5 separate regions of the Homo sapiens genome follow, and regions 1, 3, 4 and 5 are each linked to region 2. Evidence: promoter capture Hi-C in 16 types of primary human blood cells and fetal thymus (Javierre and others, 2016). All regions are on one chromosome and are shown on one strand. Each heading gives the region's core, a stretch centred on a gene start or on the middle of the fragment in contact. The rest is flanking DNA. Distances are from core to core; before and after follow the strand shown.

What was found. Contacts are between HindIII fragments. The CHiCAGO score rates a contact against its expected background, and 5 or more counts as called.
Region 1: a contact is called between a fragment that was not itself captured here and the fragment with the promoter of PRTFDC1 in region 2, in 2 of 17 cell types (naive CD8 T cells and activated CD4 T cells). The highest score is 5.4, in naive CD8 T cells.
Region 3: a contact is called between a fragment that was not itself captured here and the fragment with the promoter of PRTFDC1 in region 2, in 13 of 17 cell types (non-activated CD4 T cells, naive CD8 T cells, activated CD4 T cells and 10 more). The highest score is 15.3, in non-activated CD4 T cells.
Region 4: a contact is called between a fragment that was not itself captured here and the fragment with the promoter of PRTFDC1 in region 2, in 11 of 17 cell types (activated CD4 T cells, non-activated CD4 T cells, total CD4 T cells and 8 more). The highest score is 10.4, in activated CD4 T cells.
Region 5: a contact is called between a fragment that was not itself captured here and the fragment with the promoter of PRTFDC1 in region 2, in 1 of 17 cell types (non-activated CD4 T cells). The highest score is 6.7, in non-activated CD4 T cells.

The regions. Positions count from the first base shown.
Region 1 is chr10:24,759,842-24,762,546 of GRCh38, reverse strand. The region is part of intron 2 of LOC105376456 (a long non-coding RNA gene); the gene reads left to right. Among named protein-coding and RNA genes, the nearest start is that of ARHGAP21, 37 kb to the right of the region's middle. RefSeq lists a silencer at 1-200. The HindIII fragment of the contact is 3,716 bases long and covers 1-2,705 here.
Region 2 is chr10:24,951,274-24,953,973 of GRCh38, reverse strand. It overlaps PRTFDC1 (phosphoribosyl transferase domain containing 1), which reads left to right and starts at 1,368. Exons shown (of 9, transcript NM_020200.7): 1 at 1,368-1,446. The coding sequence starts at 1,399. It also overlaps a transcript of THNSL1 not described here. RefSeq lists a silencer at 1,018-1,207. The HindIII fragment of the contact is 20,553 bases long and covers 1-2,700 here.
Region 3 is chr10:24,730,113-24,732,812 of GRCh38, reverse strand. No RefSeq gene overlaps it. Among named protein-coding and RNA genes, the nearest start is that of ARHGAP21, 7.6 kb to the right of the region's middle. The HindIII fragment of the contact is 2,284 bases long and covers 200-2,483 here.
Region 4 is chr10:24,699,166-24,701,865 of GRCh38, reverse strand. The region is part of intron 2 of ARHGAP21 (Rho GTPase activating protein 21); the gene reads left to right. Among named protein-coding and RNA genes, the nearest start is that of ARHGAP21, 23 kb to the left of the region's middle. The HindIII fragment of the contact is 889 bases long and covers 944-1,832 here.
Region 5 is chr10:24,785,756-24,788,455 of GRCh38, reverse strand. No RefSeq gene overlaps it. Among named protein-coding and RNA genes, the nearest start is that of ARHGAP21, 63 kb to the right of the region's middle. The HindIII fragment of the contact is 1,967 bases long and covers 383-2,349 here.

The DNA.
Region 1 (2,705 bases), core at 184-2,683, 190 kb after region 2:
AAAGATTCACTCATGCATCTCTTAACTGATTTCTTTCTTCTTTCCCGGGGAGTTCAACAGCTAAACAGATAAACTGTTTCCGTTTGTGGTTTGAGTCCTGTTTTCTCTATGATTTCCTCCAAAAGAAAGAGCAATAAGTAAAACAGGGCAAACATGAGCTGTGTCAACATAGCAAAACACCTGCAGAACAACAACTCCAAGCTGACAAAGACTTATGCAACTGTTTAATGGTTTGTCCTGGATCCAACAGTAAGATTTTCCTGACAGTAACTCTCTCCCTGCCAAAGAGGCCATAACCCTTGAATCTGGTAGAGAAATTGGAGAGTATAATACTGTACTGTTGCTTCTGGCAGTGACAGAGTGAAATATGTGGTTGGAGTTTTTTTTTTTTAAAAAAGATATATGTAGATTAGCACACAAGGCAGAAAACAATAAAGATAACAACCAAAACATCTAAAATATATAGGCTTTTGACTAGGCGCGGTGGCTCATGCCTGTAATCCCAGCACTTTGGGAGGCCAAGGCGGGTGGATTGTTTGAGGACAGGAGTTAGACACTACCGTGGTGAAACCCCATCTCTACTAAAAATGCAAAAATTAGCCGGGTGTGATGGCATGTGCCTGTAATCCCAGCTTCTTGGGAGGCTGAGGCTTGAGAATCACTTGAACTCGGGAGGCAGAGGTTGCAGTGAGCTGAGATCGCACCATTGCACTCCAGCCTGGGCGACAGAGCAAGACTTTGTCTCAAAAAATAAAATAAAATAAAATAAAACAAAATATCTAGGATTTCACATTTGCAAAGCAGTTTTACATACATTATGTTAGTCCCTTCACCCCTATGCACATATATATAACAAACCTTAGGGTGTCTGTAATTTTCTTCATTGTACAGATAAGGAAAAGGGTTCCGAGCAATGGAAATATTTACTCAGGGTCATAAAATAATATTTCTCTTTGATATTTTCAACTCTTATGCATTAATCAACTAATTCAATTTATGAAATATATACGATTATTGACTTTTAGTAGAGCCATTCCTGAGCTTTGACACAATGTTTAAAACTCATTAAAGTGACTTCTGGTTTAAACGTATATAAAGTGTCTCCCAATTGTCCACTAAAATAGCTATGAAACTACAGAAAAAAAGAAGAAAAATTAACACAAGGAAAATTAAGACATATACAACTTATCAGAATCTGGGGTGAGTCTTTATTAACTGAAAATTAGATTTGGCAAACATTAATGGGAAATTTTGAACACTTATTCTGTGCCAAGTACCTTGCTAGGTACTAGGAATACACAGTGGACAAATACCATCATGCTATTGGCCTTTACAGAGCTTACGGTCTAACTTGACTGAGAAAATCACTCAGACATTGCTTCACAGTATACCTAACTCGCCTGAAAAGATGTAGGAGCACTTTTTTTTATCAGCCCTGTTATTCTTGCATTCAGAGATTCTGCAGCAATTGGAATATTGGGCAGAGAGTATATTGCTCATAGATCCCAAATTATGTGGCAGCCACAGCACTGATTCACTGATTATTCTTCTTCTTCTTTTTTTTTTTTTCTGCCAGCACCTGATCTTGGATGCCTGGCTAACTGTTTTTAGAGATGAGGTCTTGCTATGCTGCCCAGGCTGGTCCTGAACTGCTGGCCTCAAGTGATCCTCCCTCCTCAGCCTCCCAAGGTATTGGGATTAAAGGTGTGAGCCACTGTGCCCAGCCTGATTCTTTCTTCTTATTCTTCACCTCACTCTCCCATCCCCCCATATCTTTCTATATTGTTACATTAACTAGGACAGTAGATGTAAAATCCTTAGCATAATCTTTGAGTCAGAATATGTTCCTATTAATGTTAGCCAATTTCATTATCAGTTTTTACAATTCAGAGGTAACAACCAAAGACTGATTGGGCAGAAAGTAGTGCTCTGGAAGGCTGGTGGTAGTATATTGCAGGTATAGACTCCATGCATAAAGTTTCAAAGGCAGAGGGTCAAAACTGGAAGAATCCCAATAGGGGTGCTGTATCAGTCAGGGTTCCTCAGAGAAACAGAACCAATAGTGTATTAGTCCATTCCCACACGGCTATAAAGAACTACATGAGACTGGGTAATTTATGAAGAAAAGAGGTTTAATTGACTCATAGTTCTACAGGCTGTACAGGAGGCATGGCTGGGGAGGCCTCAGGAAACTTACAATCATGGCAGAAGGCAAAGGGGAAACCGGCACATCTTACATGGCCAGAGCAGGAGGAAGAGAGAGAGTGAAGGGGGAAGTGCTAGACACTTTCAAACAACCAGATCTCGTAAGAACTCCATCATGAGACAGCACTGGAGGATGATGCTAAACCATTAGAAACCATCCCCATGATCCAATCACCTCCCGCCAGGCCCCTCCACCAACACTGGGAATTACAATTTGACATGAGATTTGAGTGGGGACACAGAGCCAAACCACATCAAATAGGATGTGTACAAAAAAAGATTTATTATAAGGAATTGGCTTATGCAATTATGGAGGCTGACAAGTCCCAAAGTTGGCCGTCAGCAAGCTGGAGACCCAGGAGAGCCAATGGTGTATGGAGTTCCAGTCCCAAAGCCAAACAGGCTTAAGACACAGGAAGAGTACATGTTTCAATTCAAGTCCGAAGGCAGGGAAAAAAACAATGTCACAGCTTGAATGCAGTCAAGCAGAAGGAGTTTTC
Region 2 (2,700 bases), core at 119-2,618:
CTGTAAGGCAGTTGCCAAGCAGATGCCTGATTTCAGGGATCTCTGGAGCTGCACCCTCCAAGGCGCTGGCGCTTAGAAACGACATGAAGAGCCAGCCCTGCTGAGCAGGACCAGGGCGCCAAGTCTGAATGACTAATATTTTTCCAACCTAGAACGTCATTAACCGATTGATAACTATTTCCCCTTTAAACTAGGCAAAATCAGCATTCCTCTCCCCTCTGTGTGCCAGAATTCGAAGATGAACAAAAGACGCCTGCATCAGGAAAACTGTGTTAAGTTCTCTTGGATTCAGGGCTTCGACCCGAATTGGGCTGAGTGAATGAAGACGCTGGTGAGATGTCAGGGACCTGGGGAATGAAGACACACCCAGAAAAAGCAGGAACCTACAGGAGTGGACAAAGAACCGGAGCATAGGCATGTGAGAGGGGTTGAAATGAACAACAGACTCATACAAGAAGGATTTCTAATCAGAAAAGAGCGATTGCTTTAGTAAAGCTGCAACCTGGAACAATTACAATCTGACCAGATGTTCTTGCAAAACTGGTAAAGCAGAGAATGTGTAAAAATCTCTCCCCCTCCTCCCCTGAATGCAGTTGACGAAAGGCCGAAAGGCTGGATCCTCAAAGCCCAGATCTGATCACTGCAGATCCGGGCCACCCTAAAAGCAATCGGGTGTAATCTTTCCAGCTCCAGGCCCTGGGATGAGGGAGGTGGGGGAAGGTGGAGAAAGGTGGAGGAAGATGGAGGGAGGTGAGGGGAGGTGGAGGGAGGTGAGGGGAGGTGGAGGGAGATGAGCGGAGGTGGAGAGAGGTGGGTGGCGGCTCCAAGGTTTGAAAACACATCCAGGACACTTCCCATCCTCCAAGAGCACGCTGGCTCACAGGCTCTTTCACGCTTCTGCTTGGGACAATCGCGTGCATGAAATCTGGCAGGGAGGAGTCAAGGAGATTGTTAGCCCGAGGGCTGGGACGGTGGATCTGGGAATCAGGGGCCTGGGGGACACGTTCTCTTCCTGCCGCGGGCTTCCTGCTCCAGAGTCCCCGCGGGGCTTGGCGGCGGGGCCGGGGGCTGCACGCGACCATCCGGCAGGGGGCGGCGGCGACAGCGGCGGCCGCAAGGGACGCGTCCGGGGCCCGCGCTCAGGGGGAGCGGTAGCGGCTTGGCAGCTGCTCCCCGCGCCCCCGCGGCCTAGCCAGGGGAGGGGGCGCAGCGCCGGGGCCATGGATCCGCGTCAGGCCGCTGCTTCCCGCCGGCGGGCCCGGGGCGGGGCGGACCCGTCCCCGTCCCCGTCCCCGTCCCCGTCCCCGTCCCCATCCCCACGTCCCATCCCCCACGCAGCCTTCGCCCTCCCTGCTCCTTCCCGCGCCGTCTTCCCTTCCCGCGTTCCCCGGGAGAAACATGGCCGGGAGCAGCGAGGAGGCGCCAGACTACGGGCGAGGCGTCGTGGTAAATGCAAACTCCCTATTTTGGGGCTCGGCCCGCTCCCCTCCCTCCCTGGCACCCTGCTTGTAGATTAAATGCTTGCCGTGCGTCGGGGGAGAGAGAGGGCCACCGCTTTGTTCTCCCTCCCGGCGGGGATCGCTTCCATCCTCGGACCCGGGCCTCCTCTCCCCGCCCCCAATCTGACGAAACTCTGAGTCCCGTCCCTTCACCCCGAGTTCCCAGCGTCCCCCCGTGTCCTCCGGCCGGTAGCTCGCTCCTGCAGCGTCCCGCCGGCGCCCAGCCGTCCCCATCCCCGCGAGCCACGGGGAGTCGCTTCTGCGAGCCCGGCAGGGCCCCAGAGACCCCCGCGTGCTGCTCTGGAGGCCTCCTTCTTCCTGGGTCTCCTCTTGACTCCTCCAGGGCGGGCTTCAAGTTTTGTTTTTAAAAAGCACACTGAGGGGTTTTGAAGGCAGCTAGGAAATAAAGTAGCTCAAGTGGACAGAGCTTGAGATTTGAAGCCTTTGGTACCCAGGTTGGGGGCTCTCTGGCAGTGGAGGCCTCTGCAGGAGCTCTAGGACACGCTGGCGGCTCCTGAGTGACCTATGGCTTGTCTGTAAAAGGGAGCAACAGCAAGCTGGGCTCTGGAGCCAATTGGGAGGATGCATGTAAAATATCTAGCAGTGTGTCCGGATGGGAGGGTGTGGGGTGCTGGTTTCCCAGAACTGAGCCTCATTAACCCTGAGAATCCTGACGGTGTCAGCCAGAGGGTACCCATCTCTCAGTGTGCTAGGATCCAACCCGTTCTTGACCTTGTGGCCACGTCCTCCCTGCTCCCTGAGAAGTGGTTTTCCTAGAAGGTGGTGGTTATAACTTGTGTCAGGTTCAGTGTGAAACTCAATGGTGGTGAGGATGGTGGGTGGGGCTAACTTGCCATCTCTTTCCAGGGATCAGCTTGTCATTCACAGATAATCTGTTTATGAATATGAATGGCCTGAACTAAAGTAAGTGGGCTGGGGAGGGAAACGTGTCACATTCAGACAGAAGGGTCAGGTTGAAATGTGGGGCTCAGTGCTTAATTTAACAGCAGGACCTTTCCTTCTGAAAGGATGAGGAGTTGATTTATTCATTCCACACGTTTATTGTCCTGCTGGGTTGTAGGAGGTGCTGTAGGCTCTGGGGTGCAAAAGACAAAGGCCTTGTCTTCATGAGCTTGCGTTCTAGAGAAGACATAGGCAAGCAGTGTGTAAACAAATAGAGAAAATTTCAAATAGAGATATG
Region 3 (2,700 bases), core at 92-2,591, 220 kb after region 2:
ATCCCTGACCCAAAAGAAAACCATTACTCACCTAAAAATTTTTCTCAGCATTAATTGATAAGAAAAATTTTGAAGAAAACAAATAATGTGACTTAAAGATTGAATCATGTGGTCATTCACATTTAAAAGCAGCTGAAAGGCTGGGTGCAGTGGCTCATGCCTGTAATCCCAGAACTTTGGGAGACTAAGGTGTGAAGCTTGCTTGAGGCTGGGAGTTCAAGAATAGCTTGGGCTAAAAATTAGCTACAACACCCAGGTAATTTTTAAATGTTTTTGTAGAGATAGGTCTAATTATGTTGACCAGGCTGGTCTTGAATTCCTGGGCTCAAAAAATCCTTATGCCTCGGCCTCCCAAAGTGTTGGATTACAGGTGTGAGCCACTATGCCCAACAGTTTTTTTTTTAATGAGACACACACTAAAATCTGATTTGTTTATTGCCTGCAACATTTTTCTTTTCTTTTTTTTTTTTTTGGTTTCAAACACCAATTTGAATGAGGCTTTTTTATACTAAAAAGTTATCTGTTGTTTATCTGATGTTCAAATTGAACTGTGTGCTCATTGTTTTTATTTGCTAAACTTGGCAACCCTACCTCCAGTCACTGTGAATCGGGGAAGGGTCTAGGAAGGCACAGATCTAAGCCTTTTAAGGGAAGACTTCCAGAGTGACACACAATCATTCCTGCCCACATTTCATTGCCTAGAATTTAGTCATGGCCACACCTAGACACACCTAGATAGAAAGTCTAGCTTGTTAACCAGGTGCCTAACTAAAATACTACTATTATAGGAGAAGGAGAGAACAGATTTGGGGGAACATTTAGCAGGCTACCATAGTATATCTTTGAAAAAAATTTTTTTTAGTTTCATTAGTTGTAAATTCTGTCAGAGACATCAATTTCTCTAAATCAGATTTCTGTTGTCTTCTATATTTTTCATCTCCTGTCTAATCACTTTAATCTTTGTCCTTTTCCTTTGTATTTGATGTGCTTTAAAACAAATCTGTCATCCATCCCACAATTTTCTGCTAGATATTTCTTATTTTTATTTTTTAAAAATAGAGATGAGGTCTCACTGTGTTGCCCAGGCTGGTCTTGAATTCCCAGGCTCAAGTGATCCTCCCACCTTGGCCTCTGTGCTAGGATTACAGGCATGAGCCACTGTGCCCGGCCAGACATTTCTTATTTCTTCTTATTTCTAATTCATGTATTATTTCTGCAACGGTATGATTTTTCCCTCTCAATACCTTCTCTTAGCCATTCTAACATCTTTTATATTTCATTCATTCTCTTGTGATTTCACTTTTGATATATTTTATTTTCTTCGGGGTATGAAACATTTGTCTCTATATTTCTTCTGCTTACTGGGGTTAATCTTCTTCCATAATATATCTTTTCTTTTTAGAATATATTCCTTTATTTCATCTCTTCCCCAATATCACAATTTAAAATGTTTATGTCAGTCTTATTTCCTTTTCATTCATCTTTGATGAATATTTACTATCTAAAATTTCTATTTATATTGAAAGAAACAGGGTGGATGAATTATCTTTGAGGACCCCAGGCTTCTTGTTGGATTCAAGCAATGAGGAGCCACAGAAGAAAGCTGGAAGGAGGCATGAGAATGGGTTCGTAAAATGTGGTATGAGATTGGGCCCCTTCATAGTTTTAGTGTTTGTTTTTTTCTTTTTTACTTCGTAATTTTTAAAAATTAAAATATAATTGAAAAAATCTTTGAGGAGAAAGGTTATGTAAGCCTGCCATCTATCCTACTTAAGCCCAGATGTGAATTACCACATATTGCCCTGCGATCTTTTCCTATCTGAGGGAAGAAGCCTTGGTTAGTTGACTTTTGGATTAATAAGGAATGCAAGCAATTATAGGGATAGAGGAATGGAATCTACAGTGCTAGACAATATTGAAAGATACTCAGAGTTTCTTGAATCAAGGAATAGAGAAGTCTTTAGGTGTCTTTCCTGATTCTGCTCAATGACAATGAAAGGGAAGGCTAGAACTTTTTATTTTTTTTGATGAAAAGATTTGATTACTTTGGATTAGGCCTATGATATTAAAAATCAACTGCTAGCACAGTTTCCTAGTTAAAATGTTTGGAATTTAGCATTCTATTCCAAAATGATAAAAACATATTTCAATTCTCCAGTTGTAATATGGGTTTCTCCAGATTGCACTGTATTTTCACAATGTTCCAACTCATATTTAGTTGGGTGGGTGGAAACATTTTAAAAACTAGTCTCATATTTTTAAGGAAAGTTGGAATACTTATAAATGAAAGTCACGATTCTTAGGATAAAATAAAAACTTGCACATGGATTTTTTATTCATATTTTTTCTTAAAACATATAAATAAACTTAACAATGTTGATGACTATGACTAGCATACCACTAAATTTTAATTATGGAAATTCTAATGCTGAATAATAATTTGGATCTAAAGAAAACTTTTGATATATGATTATGGATAAGCTTTGGGGTGAAATTTTATAGTTTCTACCAAAATGTAAGTGATATTAATTTTTAGGATGGTCTTATGGCTGAAAAACAGCTAAATCGCTGGCAGTGAAGTTTATTTATTTATTTATTTGAGATGGAGTGTCACTCTGTCAACCAGGCTTGGCCCTGCCTCCCAGGTTCAAGCAATTCTCCTGTCTCAGCCTCCTGAGTAAGCTGGGATTACAGGACCGT
Region 4 (2,700 bases), core at 139-2,638, 250 kb after region 2:
CATTATCACTTCTGTAGATACTTGTATACAGCCTGCGGTCTGTTTTCAGCTCAGCATCGAGTATGATCATTTTAAACATCAGAACATGAACATGGTATTCTACCAGAGTCCACCAGAGGCTGCCCATATTAGCATAAAAGCCAAGGGCCTGAAGAGATTTTGTTCCCTTCTTTCATTATCTCCAGTACCCTGTTTCTACTTCCTTTTCAAACCCTAGTCATTCTTCTCTAACCACACTGGCCTCCTTTGCTGTTCATCTCAGGGCCTTTGCACTCACCGTTCCCACTTCCTGAAATACTTTCATTTCAGATCTCTGCATAGCCTGCTGCTTTGCTTTCTTTAGGGTTCTATTCACATGTTCCCTTCTCAGAGAAATGTTCTGTTCCAATTTAAGATATTACAAAGGGAAAAACAATCATGCCATTAAAGAAGGCACTTTTTTTTTTCTTTGAAAGAAGGTTGTAAAATGATTGGAAATTTTTATTATTTAATGGAAATCTCATTTTGTATAAGTCCATTTCAGGAAAGAAGAGCCGGAGGAATCCTAGATTGGATCCTTCGAACTGGAAACGACAAGGAGATACCCACACCAAAGAGGCCTCAAGCTTAGTGAAGTTCCCTCTCTCCCTGGGGAAACCAAATGGAAGAGGGAAAGAGAGGCTGCATAGAGCATTTTTTTTTTTAATTTTTACTGCTTTCTCCCTGAAGCTCCTTCCTCTTGTCTTCCTCCTCCGCTCCTCCTGTTTTGTTAAATTGTGTCCTAGTTCTCTGTTCCTTAGAGCTGTTAAAATCAGCAGCTGCTTCTAACACCAGTAGACGGAGGCTTTACGTTGATAAGCTAGGAAATTGGAAATAGGCCTTTTGACACTTAAGGTACCTTAAATTCTTGCTACTTTAAGTGTGGTCTATGAACTGACCAGCAGTATCTACACTCCGGGAAGCTTGTAAGAAATGCGGATGTTCTGGTCTCACTCTAGACTTTAGGGAATCAGAATTTGCAGTTTAACAAGATCGTCAGGTGATTCTTCCACACATTAAAGCTCTGCCTTCAATGGCCAAAAGAGAGTTAAAGGTTATTTTTGAGAGGTACTTAATTTGTTTTTCTTTAAATATTACTTTACATTGTATCATCCTTTTAAAAATTAGGACAAATGCAAAGTATTATGGTGTTACCACTTACCATATTATTTAAATAATTATGTAGAAAAATTCTAAGTGGCTAAATGGTACTTCTTTTTTGCAACCACTGGATAAGATCCTAAATTAATCCAGAATACCTAATCATAAAGAAAAGCCTCAATTTTTCATGTTTTATATTTCATTGTTAACATAAATGGAAAAATCGAAACCATCTTTAATTCTTATTATTTTAATCAGTTAGGGAGCCTGGAAATTGGACTTTAGGCTGAGAACTCCGAGGGTTTTGCCTTGCCTAGGTGTAATACTTTAAATTGGCTTTTTTCCTGGCTTGACCTCCAGGCCAGCCTCTCTGTAGCGTTGTGGGTGTGCTGTGTGAGTGCTCTCTCTGCACGTGCTTGCGGCGCACTTCCACACTCATCACCTTGTGTATAAGACATCAGCTGGAAATGGCACAGGGAAACCTTGCTGGTGGGCAGGGTGCATATGGGATGAGCAGAGACACTAATATGTGCAGGGACACAACGGGCATTGCCAAAATGCACAGATGGCTGGTTTTCCACAGGTGGATCTTGCAGGTGAGAGCAAGGGGACGGGAATTAAAGGACAGAGGCCTATTAACCATTGTTAGGAGAAATCCAGCCAGACCGCTTCTGTATTTCACCAGCAGTATTGGAGAACCATTGACCTAAGCTTCAGAATTGCAGCTATCACAGCTATTGGCCTTCAGCAGGGGAGGAAAAAAAACACCTCTCTCTGCCCCTCACAGCAAGCTTCTAAAATGATGAAAAATGCCGCAGGAACGTTAGTTGAATATTTTGTGAGTGATGAAGAATAGGTAATATTTAGTGAGTACTTAACTATGTGTCAGACTATTTAACCAACTCTACAGAGATGCTATGAATATCACATTCCCATTTTACAGACGAAGAAGCTGATAAACAAGGGCTTAAGTCTCTTGTCGGGGCCACATAGCTAAGAAGGTGCAGAGCAGCACGCAGGCCCAGGGAGTGAGACTCCAAAGTCTGGGTGCTTGATGCCTTCTCTTTACCGAAGGATATAATGTAGTGTTCTAGTCATCAGCTTTTAAAACTAGTAATTCTAGGCCGGGCACGGTGACTCATGCCTGTAATCCCAGCACTTTGGGAGGCCGAGGTGAGCCGATCACCTGAGGTCAGGAGTTGGAGACCAGCCTGGCCAACATGGTGAAACCCTATCTCTACTAAAAATACAAAAATTAGCTGGGCATGGTGGCAGGCGCCTGTAATCCCACCTACTCGGGAGGCTGAGGCAGGAGAATCGCTTGAACCTGGGAGGTGGAGGTTGCAATGAGCCAAGGTCGCACCATTGCACGCCAGCCTGGGGGACGAGTGAGACTCCATCTCAAAAAAATAATAATAATAATAATAATTCTAAAGATGTATCAGACATCTAGAGTAAATAATAAAATTATATGGATATAATATGCAAATATATGTGTAAATTATATATTTCCCTCCCATTCCCAATTGCTGGCCAATTTAGGGAGTAGTGGAGAGAAGTAGACTGAAAAAGAGATAATAG
Region 5 (2,700 bases), core at 117-2,616, 170 kb after region 2:
GCAATAATGCTGCTTAAAACAAATACATTTTACAGCTGTATAAAAGTATCTTTCTTTTTTTCTGTTGAGACAGACTCGTGCTCTGTTGCCCAGGCTGGAGTGCAGTGGTGCCATCTCAGGTCACTGCAACCTCTGCCTCCCAGGTTCAAGCGATTCTTGTGACTTAGCCTCCCAAGTAGCTGGGACTACAGACGCCTGCCACCACGATCGGCTAATTTTTGTATTGTTCGTAGAGACAGGGCTTCACCGTGTTGGCCAGGCTGGTCTCAAACTCCTGGCCTCAAGTGATCTGCCCACCTCAGCCTCCCAAGCTGCTGGGATTATAGGCATTAGCCACCGTGCCTGGCCTATTTTCTTTCTTTATATCTTTATTCTATAAGCTTTTCTCTATTTTTATATTTTTTAATTTTTATTGTTTTACTTTTTAAACTTTTTTTATTAAAAACTAAGACACAACCAGACATTAGCCTTGGCCTACACAGGGTCAGGATCACCAACATCACTGTCTTCCACCTCCACATTTTGTCCCACTGGAAGGTCTTCAGGTGCAGTAACATACATAGAGCGCTCATGTCCTGTGATGACAATGCCTTCTCCTGGAATACTTCCTGAAGACCCTTCCCAAGGCTGTTTTACAGTTAACTTTTTAAAAATAAGTAGGAGTACAAGCTCAAATAACGATAAAAAGTATAGTATAGTAAGTATATAACCCAGTAACATAATTATTTATTAGCAAATATTATATGCGCTAACCTTGTATATGACTGGCAGTACAACAGTTTTGTTGACACCAGCATCACCACAAACACGTGAGTAACACGTAGTGCGCTACAACGTTATGACAGTGACGATGCCACTAGCGATAGGAGTTTTTCAACTGCATTGTAACCTTGTTTTTTGGGGTTTTGTTTTTGTTTTGTTTTGTTTTGTTTTTGAGACAGAGTCTTGCCCTGTCACCCAGGCTAAAGTGCAGTGGCACCATCTCGGCTCACTACAACGTCCACCTCCCGGGTTCAAGCGATTCTCCTGCCTCAGCCTCCCAAGTAGCTGGGATTACAGACACCCACTGCCACATCAGGCTAATTTTTGTATTTTTAGTAGAGACAGGGTTTCGCCTTGTTGGCCAGGCTGGTCTCAAACGCCTGACCTCAAGAGATCTGCCCCCCTTGGCCTCCCAAAGTGCTGGGATTACAGGCCTGAGCCACTTGTACCCAGCCAACTGCATTGTAATCTTATGGGGCCACCCCTGTATCTGTAGTCTGTCTCGACAGAAGCATCATTATGCAGTGCATGACTGTAGTAGATTCCTCCTTACGCCAGGAGAAGTTTTGCAGTAGAGCTGGAATTTCTGCCTCTAGCCACGATGCCCAGGACCACTGGCTGGCTCGGCTGATTCTCACATCTGACTGGGTTGCTGGCATCATCTTAAACTAGATACCCTTGGGTTCCCTTTCTGTCCCAGGAGCAGCAGCAGCAGCAGACCTTCCAGAAGTTTCTCTCTCTCCTTTTATTTGCTGACCCTCTTATGGAAACGCGGGACTGGAGAAATTTCAGGAAGAGATTAACCCTGTTAGACCCAGGTCTTTTGTGCCCTACATACTCCTATAGTCTTAGGCTACAATTAAGATTCCAAAAGTAGAATATCTCCAGGAAATTTGCCTTTTAAATATGCCTGCCTTGGCCAGGCATGGTGTCTCACACCTGTAATCCCAGCACTCTGGGAGGCCGAGATGGGTGGATCACTTGAGGTCAGAAGTTCAAGACCAGCCTGGCCAACATGGCGAAACCCCGTCTATACTAAAAATACAAAAATGAGCCAGGTGTGGTTGTGGGTGCCTGTAATCCCAGCTACTCAGGAGGCTGAGGCAGGAGAAGTGCTTGAATCTGGGAGGGAAAGGGTGCAGTGAGCCGAGATCACACCACTGCACTCCAGCCTGGATGACAGAGTGAGACTCCATCCTCGAAAAATAATAATAATTAAAAAAAAAAAATTTAAGTGCTTGCTTGGCCCGGCGCAGTGGTTCACGCCTGTAATCCCAACACTTTTGGAGACCAATGCACTCAGATCACTTAAGGTCAGGAGTTCAAGACCAGCCTGGCCAACATGGTGAAACCTTGTCTCTACTAAAATAAAAAATACAAAAATTAGCCGTGCGTGGTGGTGGGCACCTGTAATCCCAGCTACTCGGGAGGCTGAGATGGGAGAATCGCTTGAACCCAACAGGCGGAGGTTGCCGTGAGCTGAGATCATGCCATTGCACTCCAGCTTGAGCAACAGAGCGAGACTATCTCAAAGAAAAAAAGTATCTGCCTTATAAGGTGGGAAGCAATAATGACAGCATTAAAGCTTAAAAATGCAAGTTGAGGCCAGGCTGGGATTACAGGCATATATATATATATATATATATGTCTAGACATATATATGTGTGTGTGTATAGACATATATATATGTATAGACATATATATATATATATACTATTCTAGTATCTGAGAGGTTAAGTAAATATCCTAGCATCCCAGAGGGTTAGGGCTCAGAGAATATGTGATTTTTAAAATTATATATATATGTATGTATATACATATATATGTATATATACATATGTCATTTCACCTGGACAAAAAATTATATATACACATGTATATGTAATTTTTAAAATCACATATTCTCTGAGCCCTAACCCTCTGGGATGCTAGGATATT